Regions from separate parts of the Homo sapiens genome. Here region 2 is linked to region 1. Evidence: promoter capture Hi-C in human tissues and cell types (Jung and others, 2019). All regions are on one chromosome and are shown on one strand. The core of a region is centred on a gene start or on the middle of the fragment in contact, and the rest is flanking DNA. Distances in the headings are between cores, read along the strand shown. Region 1 holds the start of RABL2B (RAB, member of RAS oncogene family like 2B). Region 2 overlaps LOC124905149 (a long non-coding RNA gene).

The links. Contacts are between HindIII fragments. The study calls those that stand out against the background at their distance.
Region 2: a fragment that was not itself captured here is called in contact with the fragment with the promoter of RABL2B in region 1 in 2 of the 25 tissues and cell types used here (dorsolateral prefrontal cortex and mesenchymal stem cells).

What each region holds. Positions count from the first base shown.
Region 1 is chr22:50,781,666-50,785,764 of GRCh38, reverse strand. It overlaps RABL2B (RAB, member of RAS oncogene family like 2B), which reads left to right and starts at 2,129. Exons shown (of 9, transcript NM_001130919.3): 1 at 2,129-2,264; 2 at 3,418-3,577. The coding sequence starts at 3,471. It also overlaps the pseudogene RPL23AP82. RefSeq lists a silencer at 1,958-2,197. The HindIII fragment of the contact is 9,824 bases long and covers 497-4,099 here.
Region 2 is chr22:50,633,620-50,637,720 of GRCh38, reverse strand. LOC124905149 (a long non-coding RNA gene) reads right to left here. Exons shown (of 2, transcript XR_007068161.1): 1 at 3,023-4,101; 2 at 1,715-2,178. Among named protein-coding and RNA genes, the nearest start is that of ARSA, 7.5 kb to the right of the region's middle. RefSeq lists enhancers at 1,428-1,942, 1,943-2,459. The HindIII fragment of the contact is 5,037 bases long and covers 333-4,101 here.

The sequences.
Region 1 (4,099 bases), core at 880-3,379:
CTAAAACACTGCCTAGCGCAGGTGCACCATCAACCTTATTCACTAAATACACCTCTGTATATATTCTTCATCTTTGATTGTGGAAATGATATAATCAACATAAAAATGTTTTATAGATTGGACTAAAGACCTTTGAGGTCTCTTCACAGGATCCTATCTGGCGGACCCCCAAATCTGCCAACACAGAGGTCATCCGTAAACACGTGCAGGACAGAGGCCAGACAAAACCATCTCTCTCAGCCTCAAAGTGGCCTGGCAGTCACATGTGGGGTCTGGCCTGTATGAGGAAGTCAGGCTTTCGGCTCCAGGCACCCTACTGCACCGCAAAACCAAGTTCTGCCTAAGAAACAAAAAACAGCCTGCTCACTCTCCCTAATATCCCAGGTGGTAACCTAAGAGCATTATCTGCTAGACACCCCTCCTCCTCCACCCTCCATGTCCAAGCTATCACCAAGGTCCTAGCAATCTTACCTCCTAAATGTCTCCCAAATCCACTTCTCTCCCTTCACTGTCCAGGCCACCAGCATGACTTCTGCATGTGTGTAGCAGCCTCCGCGCAGGACGTAAAGATGCAAATCTAGTCGTAGGCTCTCTGAAAGGAAAATTTTGGGGACCCAAAATTACTAAGCTAAAGGAAAAGTCAAGCTGGGAACTGCTCAGGGCAAACCTGCCTCCCTTTCTATTCCAAGTCACCTATCTCCTCACTAAGATAGGTGCATATCTGATTCCCTGCTTTGGAGAGGCTAATCAGAAACTCAAAACAATGCAACCTTTGTCTCTCACCTACCTGTGACCTTGGAAGCCCCCTCCCTGCTTCCAGTTGTCCCCAGCTTTCTGGATGGAAGCAACGTACTTCTTACATATATTGATTGATGTCTCATGTCTCCCTAAAACCAAGCTGTGCCCTGACCACCTTGGGCACATGTCGTCAAGACCTCCTGAGGCTGTGTCACGGGTGCACCTCTTTCTAAATTACCTGAAACCATCTCAGATAGGGTTCACACATCCCTTTCCCAAACCCTCCCAGGAGCCCCTCGTGGGCGCCCAGGTCCTGCGTGCTGTTGTGGCCCAGGCTCACCTGGAGCAACTCGACTCTTCGTTACAGCCTCGTGAACCTTTCAGTTCCTAAAGCTGTCTAGCCTGTGAAAGGAAAATGAATCTGGGGGCCCCAAAATCACTAAGCTAAAGGGAAAAAAGCTGGGAACTGCTTAGGGCAAACCTGCCTCCCCATCTATTCAAAGTCACCCCTCTGCTCACTGAGATAGGTTAATATGTGATAGCCTCCTTTGCGGAGGCTATTCAGAAACCCGAAAGAATACAACAGTTTGTCTCTCACCTACCTGTGACCTGGAAGCCCCCTCCCTGCTTCGAGTTGTCCCGCCTTTCCCGAGGGAACCAACGTTCATCTTACATATATTGATGTCTCCTGTCTCCCTAACATGTATAAAAGCAAGCTGTGTCCCGGCCACCTTTGGCACATGTCAAGACCTCCTGAGGCTGTGTCACGGGCGTGCGTCCTCAACCTTGGCAAAATAAACTTTCTAAATTGACTGAGACCGTCTCACATATTCGAGGTTCACAAGCCCATGCATGGGGACGTCCCCTGGGGTAGCGCCCCTCCTCCACTGAGCTCACTCGCTTCCCCCTTGTGTGTTTTCTTCAGAAGAAATTTCGCAGCTACTTGGTCCACACCTGTCTGCCCCACAGGAACCTCTCTTCTCCACAGGCACATGGGCGGCGTACCTGCTGGGCTGTGTGGAGAGGACCGGGTTCCTCTCCTGATTCCTGCTCAGTTAATAACGAATGTCGACAAGTCGAGAAAATTGCTCAAATTTACCCCATCAAAGAATTAAAAACTGGTGAAAGCTTGACCTGCGCCCCCCACCCCTGACGTGCTCACCGCTCCACTCCCTCTAGGCGGGCGGCACCCGCTGAAGCCTCGGTACCACACCCACAGCCAGGAGCCCCAGTCCCGCACTCGGCCGCATGCGCACTCCCTGCGGCCCTCCCGCCAGGCGCCGCGCTGGGCAGCCAGCGCCCCGGCGGGGTCCTTCAGGCCTTCGGCCGGGCAGCCTCCCTCGGGGTCCTTGTGCGGTTGCGTAGCAGCTGCGAGGACGCGGGCCGAGCCGGAAGTGGAGTGCGCTGCGGCGCGAGCTGGGCCGGCGGGCGTGGTTCGAGAGCGCGCAGAGTCCAGACTGGCGGCAGGGCCCGAGGGGCCGACCCGCAGCGTCCCTGGTCTCTCCAGCCCTCACTCGGAACCGCACGTGAGGGCAAATCCGCCCCGGTGGCTGGCTTAGCACGCGGGGACAGCCCCTCCGAGGCCTCCCTAGCGGTGTGGGCGAGAGGGCGTCCGGGTCGGGGGAAGCACGGAAAGGTGGCTTCGCGAGGCTGTTGTGGGGGGCGGGACGGGCAGCCTGGCGATGCCTGGACATGGTTGGTGGCCAAAAACATTTATCGAAAGATAGCTTACCCACTTAGATGGCAAGGACACGGACAAGCAAGTCTTCGCCCGTAAGCGGTGGCTCACGCCTATAGTCCAGGGATGCCGAGGAGGGAGGATCGCTTGAGTCCAGGAGTTGGAGGCTGCAGTGAGCCGTGATCGCGCCACCGCACTCCAGCCTGGGCGACAGAGTGAGACCCTATCTCTAAACAAAAGAAAGAACGTCTTCAAGCATGGAGCCATGAAGCTGGATTTGGCTTTCTGTCGCTCTCTCTACAGGGTACAGGTGAAAGGGGGCAGACCCCTCATCATGCTTTCCAGGCATCTGCCACTTCCCAGGAATTGTCTCCCTGGATAAACAAGGCGAAGTCCCTGGCTGTGCAGAAGCAGTAGCTGTGTGGTGGCACAGTCAGGAAAACTCGGGGGCCCTGTTGGTATTTTCTACCCCTGACCCGTGTGCATACTTCTGTCGTAGCTCTCACCACAGTAGACTCTGCTATCATTGTGTCTTCCATCCTCTGAACCCTGTGCAAGGTCTGCTCATGGTGAATGCCCAGTAAGGCTCACCTATTGCTGCTGTCTCATCATCATATCATTTCTATGTGCCCCCCTAGCTAAGAGTCTGGACTGTGGTTACATTCTCAGGAATGTTTGCAAAGTCATATTTAGGTGTGAGGAGAGTAAAACAGAGCTAGACATAATGTTGCACACAGCCTTTGGCACTGGATGCCTGGTGAATGTCTTGTGCAAATGGGTAACGTGAGGAGCAGCATTTGGGGTGCGCAGGACTTAACTATTTGTGTATAACATATTATTGATGCCTGTGTGTCATACTCTGCTACTCCAAGTCTAGTAGTCAATTGCATACCATATCTCAGTCTGGCACTGAGGGAAGCAGTCTGGAGGGAGGTACAGCTGGAGATTTGGTTGAGGGGACTTATCTCTGACAACAGCCTCTTGTTGATCTTCCCAGACAGTGACAATACCCTCCCCTCCCTTGGGCTGGACCCCTCTCTACAGCTAGGAGCCAATGGCAGAAGACAAAACCAAACCGAGTGAGTTGGACCAAGGGAAGTATGATGCTGATGACAACGTGAAGATCATCTGCCTGGGAGACAGCGCAGTGGGCAAATCCAAGTATGTTGGGAGATTAGGGAATAAATACCAGCCCCAGAGAGGGTCCAGGTCATTTAAAAAGTCCTCCAGAGGCAGAGGAGCATGGCTTCTTGGGGCTGGTGAAGGAGCAGTCTTGGCTGGAGCCCAGATGTTCATGGGGGAACGAGGGGAATCACGTGAGCCGTTGTGTGTGTCAGGTGGAGGGGGCAGGTCATAAGGACTGAGGAATTTGAATGTTTCCTCTGAGCCCTGAGAGAACGTGTGGAGCAACTGAGGACATTGTATGTGGTTTGTGGGCTGAGGGATGGCAAGGGCGGGGAGTGGGAATGGAAAGACAAAAGTGACTATGCCACCGTGACAGATTGGGTAAAGGTGGTAAAGATGCTTTCTTGGAGGGACTCTCTGAAATAGAGAAAACTGGGTAGAACTGACGATTGACTATAATCATTGTGAAGACTGGCTTCTTCTTGTAATGAATTTCGGTGCCTACGTGCCACCCGGAGAGGTGAAGGGAGGCTCTGCCGTGCTGCCAGCTTGTCTCCA
Region 2 (4,101 bases), core at 1,602-4,101, 150 kb after region 1:
GGCAGGAGAATGGCATGAACCCGGGAGACGGAGCTTGCAGTGAGCCAAGACCGCGCCACTACACTCCAGCCTGGGCGACAGAGCGAGATCGGTCTCAAAAAAAAAAAACCAAAAACCAAAAAAAAAAAAAAAAAAAAAAAGTACTTGTCTGGGTACTTTACATGAGTTTCCTTGAGGAAGAAGCAAGTCTTGAACTGTAGCTAATTATAAGCTGCTTTTTAAAAAGAATCAAAGTAAAACAGTAATTGACTGTGGATGACAGATGACTTAGACTAATGATGGTTACAGATGCAATTCACAAGGAGATTTGTTTTTTTGTGTGACATACAACAATTTAACATAATAATTATAATTTTGAGCCAGGCGTGGTGGCTCATACCTGTAATCCCTGCACTTTGGGAGACCAAGGCAGGAGGGCTGCTTGAGCTCAGGAGTTCGAGATGAGCCTGGGTGGCACAGCAAGATCCTGTCTCCAAAATAATAAATAAATAAATAAAGACAGCATGAGGCAAACTCTCTACTCCTCCTTTTTTTTTGTGAGACAGAGTCTCACTCTTGTTGCCCAGGCTGGAGTGCAGTGGCACAATCTCAGCTCACTGCAACCTCCGCCTCCCGGGTTCAAGCGATTCTCCTGCCTCGGCCTCCTGAGTAGCTGGGACTACAGGCAGGCGCCACCACGCCTGGCTAATTTTTGTATTTTTAGTAGAGATGGGGTTTCACCATCTTGGCCAGGCTAGTCTCAAACGCCTGACCTCAGGTGATCCACCCACCTCGGCCTCCCAAAGTGCTGGGATTACAGGTGTGAACCACCGTACCGGGCCTACTCCTCCTTTTCTTGTAGTTTACTCAAAAGGTAAACAAAAATCTTTTACTGTCTCTTATTAATACTACATGAAAATCTTACTCAAAAATGAAAACTAAATTCTACCTTTACATTAGCATATTATTAATACTAAAGCTAATTTTAATAAAAACTTAAAAACAGATCCATTCAATCTCAATCAGCTTTGACCACATAAGATTTCCATAAACCTTTAATAACCTCTTAAAATTTGTTCCATTCTTTGTTTCTCAAACTTTCTATATATATTCAGTTTTATCTATCATTTTTTTATTCCTTTAATTTAAAACAACCTTTAAAAACATCAAAACTAGACAAAATTACTTTTCCTTTAACAAAAACCTCATTCTCATGCCTTCTTTATAACCTTCCTTACCAAAAACACATCCTACTTTCTTATAAACTTTGCATACAGAAGTGTTTCTCTTATATCTAGTAGTTTTAAATACATATATTAATTACAATGTTAACTCTTAGGAAGCCTAATTTTCAGTGAAAAACATGGGAAGTAAGCAATTTTAATTGTTATTAAAGATGCAAAGCCCAGGACAAAGGACAGAGCTTTAAAGACTGATATGGTTTGGCTGTGTCCCCACCCAAATCTCATCTTGAACTGTAGTTCCCAAAATCCACAGGTGTTGTGGGAGGGACCCAGTGGGAGGTGATTAGATGAAGGGGGCGGTTCCCCCACGCTGTTTTTGTGCTAGTGAGTTCTCACGAGGTCTCATGGTTTCATGAGGTGCTTCCCCACTCTTCGCTCTGCACACCTCCTTCCTGACCTCATGTGAAGAACGTGTTTGCTTCCTCTTCCGCCATGATTGTAAGTTTCCTGAGGCTTCCCAGCCACGCTGAACTGTGAGTCAATTAAACCTCTTTCCTTTACAAATCACCCAGTCTCAGGTATGTCTTTATTAGCAGTGTGAGAATGGGCTACTACAAAGACAATGCCTGGAGGACTCAACCCCTCCCAGCATGACCGGGGGGCACAGCTGGGCCAGGGAGGACAATGCTCGGGCACTGCAGACACACAGCATGACCGGGGGGCACAGCTGGGCAAGAGAGGACAATGCTCGGGCACTGCAGACACACAGCATGGCTGGGGCGCACAGCTGGGCTAGGGAGGACGGGGCTCAGGCACTGCAGACACACAGTATGGCCGGGGGGCACAGCTGGGCTAGGGAGGACGGGGCTCGGGCACTGCAGACAAACAGCATGACCGGGGGGTACAGCTGGGCCAGGGAGGATGGGGCTTAGGTACTGCGGACACACAGATGTCTCCAGGCCACATCATGTCCACTTGTCTTGACCCCAGAATGTAGAGGCTCAAAGCCAAAGACCTAAGTTCACAGACAAATTAAGCAAGTATCAGAAATATGACAGAAGCAAATTTTATGACCTTAAAGCATCTAACAGAGACTGTCTGAACCTGTCCGACCAATGGGCCCAAGCAAAGATGTCTCAATTATATTTAAGACTGACGACTTTGAAGATATTCTAATTTTAGCATCATTTTTTTTTTTGAGATGGAGTCTCACTCTGTCACCCAGGCTAGAGTGCAGTAGTGCAGTCTCGGCTCACTGCAACCTCTACCTCCCAGGTTCAAGTGATTCTCCTGCCTCAGCCTCCTGAGTAGCTAGGACTACAGGCGCATGCCACCACGCCTGGCTAATTTTTGTATTTTTAGTAGAGACGGGGTTTCACCATGTTGGCCAGGATGGTCTCGATCTCTTGACCTCGTGATTTGCCCGCCTCAGCCTCCCAAAGTGCTGGGATTACAGGTGTGAGCCACTGCACCCAGCAGCAACAATTTTAAAACTAAGTTTATTTGCCAAAGATTACTAGTCACATGAACTAGAAAAGCATCTGGGTTTAGTTACATCATTCATGAGCACTTATTTATTTATACGTCAATTTGCTACTATGTACATAATATACAAACAGGCATGTACACATAAAAATACAGACACAAATCAAGATTTTATAGCTTTAGTTTTAAGATTTTAGCCACGAATCGGGTAAAAATCACTAGTTTAAAAGGATACTTAAAATTGTGCCTCTGTAAATGGAACAAGGTAAAATTTATCTGTCTCACACGGCCAAAGCCCTTACCAAGTTTTAGAGAAAACAAGGCAACAAATTTACATCTTGAAGCACAGAGAAAAAAAAATTATTTTTATTTACTGAATTTTTTCAAGACGGAGTCTTGCTCTGTCGCCCAGGTTGGAGTGCAACGGCACGATCTTGACTCACTGCAACCTCTGCCTCCTTGGTTCAAGCAATTCCACAGGGAGAAAGTTTAAGCTTTGATTTAGTATGTTAAAGGAAGATTTTAAATGGATGCTGAGGTAACAAAAAGTCATAGAAATTCACCACAGGATTTTATAAGGACAACAATGTTATTTAAATATGTGGCTATTAATTTATTCTCCATTTTTGAACTAGACCACTGGGCTCAGGACAGAGCTCATTAATGAACATGGCCAAAAAAGCATTTGCAGTTTGGAGGACCTAATATTTAAATATGTGAAAAACAGGTGCAGCTGGAAGGCAGAGCATCTAGATCTTTTAAAATCAAGGATCCCACATTTACACTGAATGCTGAGTTCCCTCTAAAAAGAGATATATATGAGACAAAGCCATACAGTGTTTCCACAGTGTACCTCACTATGAAGACATTCCCCTGAGGCTGGTGGGAGACCCACAGCAATCAGCCCACGGAGTCTCAGCCTTTGACGCCAAGTGCTTCCATAGTCTCCAAGTGTTCAGATTGTGCCTTTCTCATCTAAACATGCAGAGAAACAAGCAGCCACTGCAGGAACAACCATTCACTACAACTGCTTTCAGCCACCTCCAAAACTGTGAGGCAGCCCTCGCCAGTGACCTGCCGGCCATCACACACACTCAGGTCATGCACTGTCTCACAGTGCAACGTAATCCCTGGTACCCCCAAAGCCAAAGAGATCCAGTGACACAGTGCCAAAGACAGCCAAGCTTTAGACCCGAGAGGAAGCTACCCACGACTCCTCAGGCCCCATAAGGAAGACAAAAGCGGGGCGCGTGGCACCTTTCTTTGCGTTCCCCAAGGGGTCTCTAAGTCATCAGAAGTCCCTTGTAGATCCCTTCATTAGGTACCAAAGATGGCAAAGGGGATGGAGGAGCACGGAGGGGTAGAAGTAAATGGGACTGCAATCCTTAGAGGAGCCAATTTGGAAAAATGTTAAGGTTCTAAAAGGCCAATACAATTTTACATTTTTCTCATC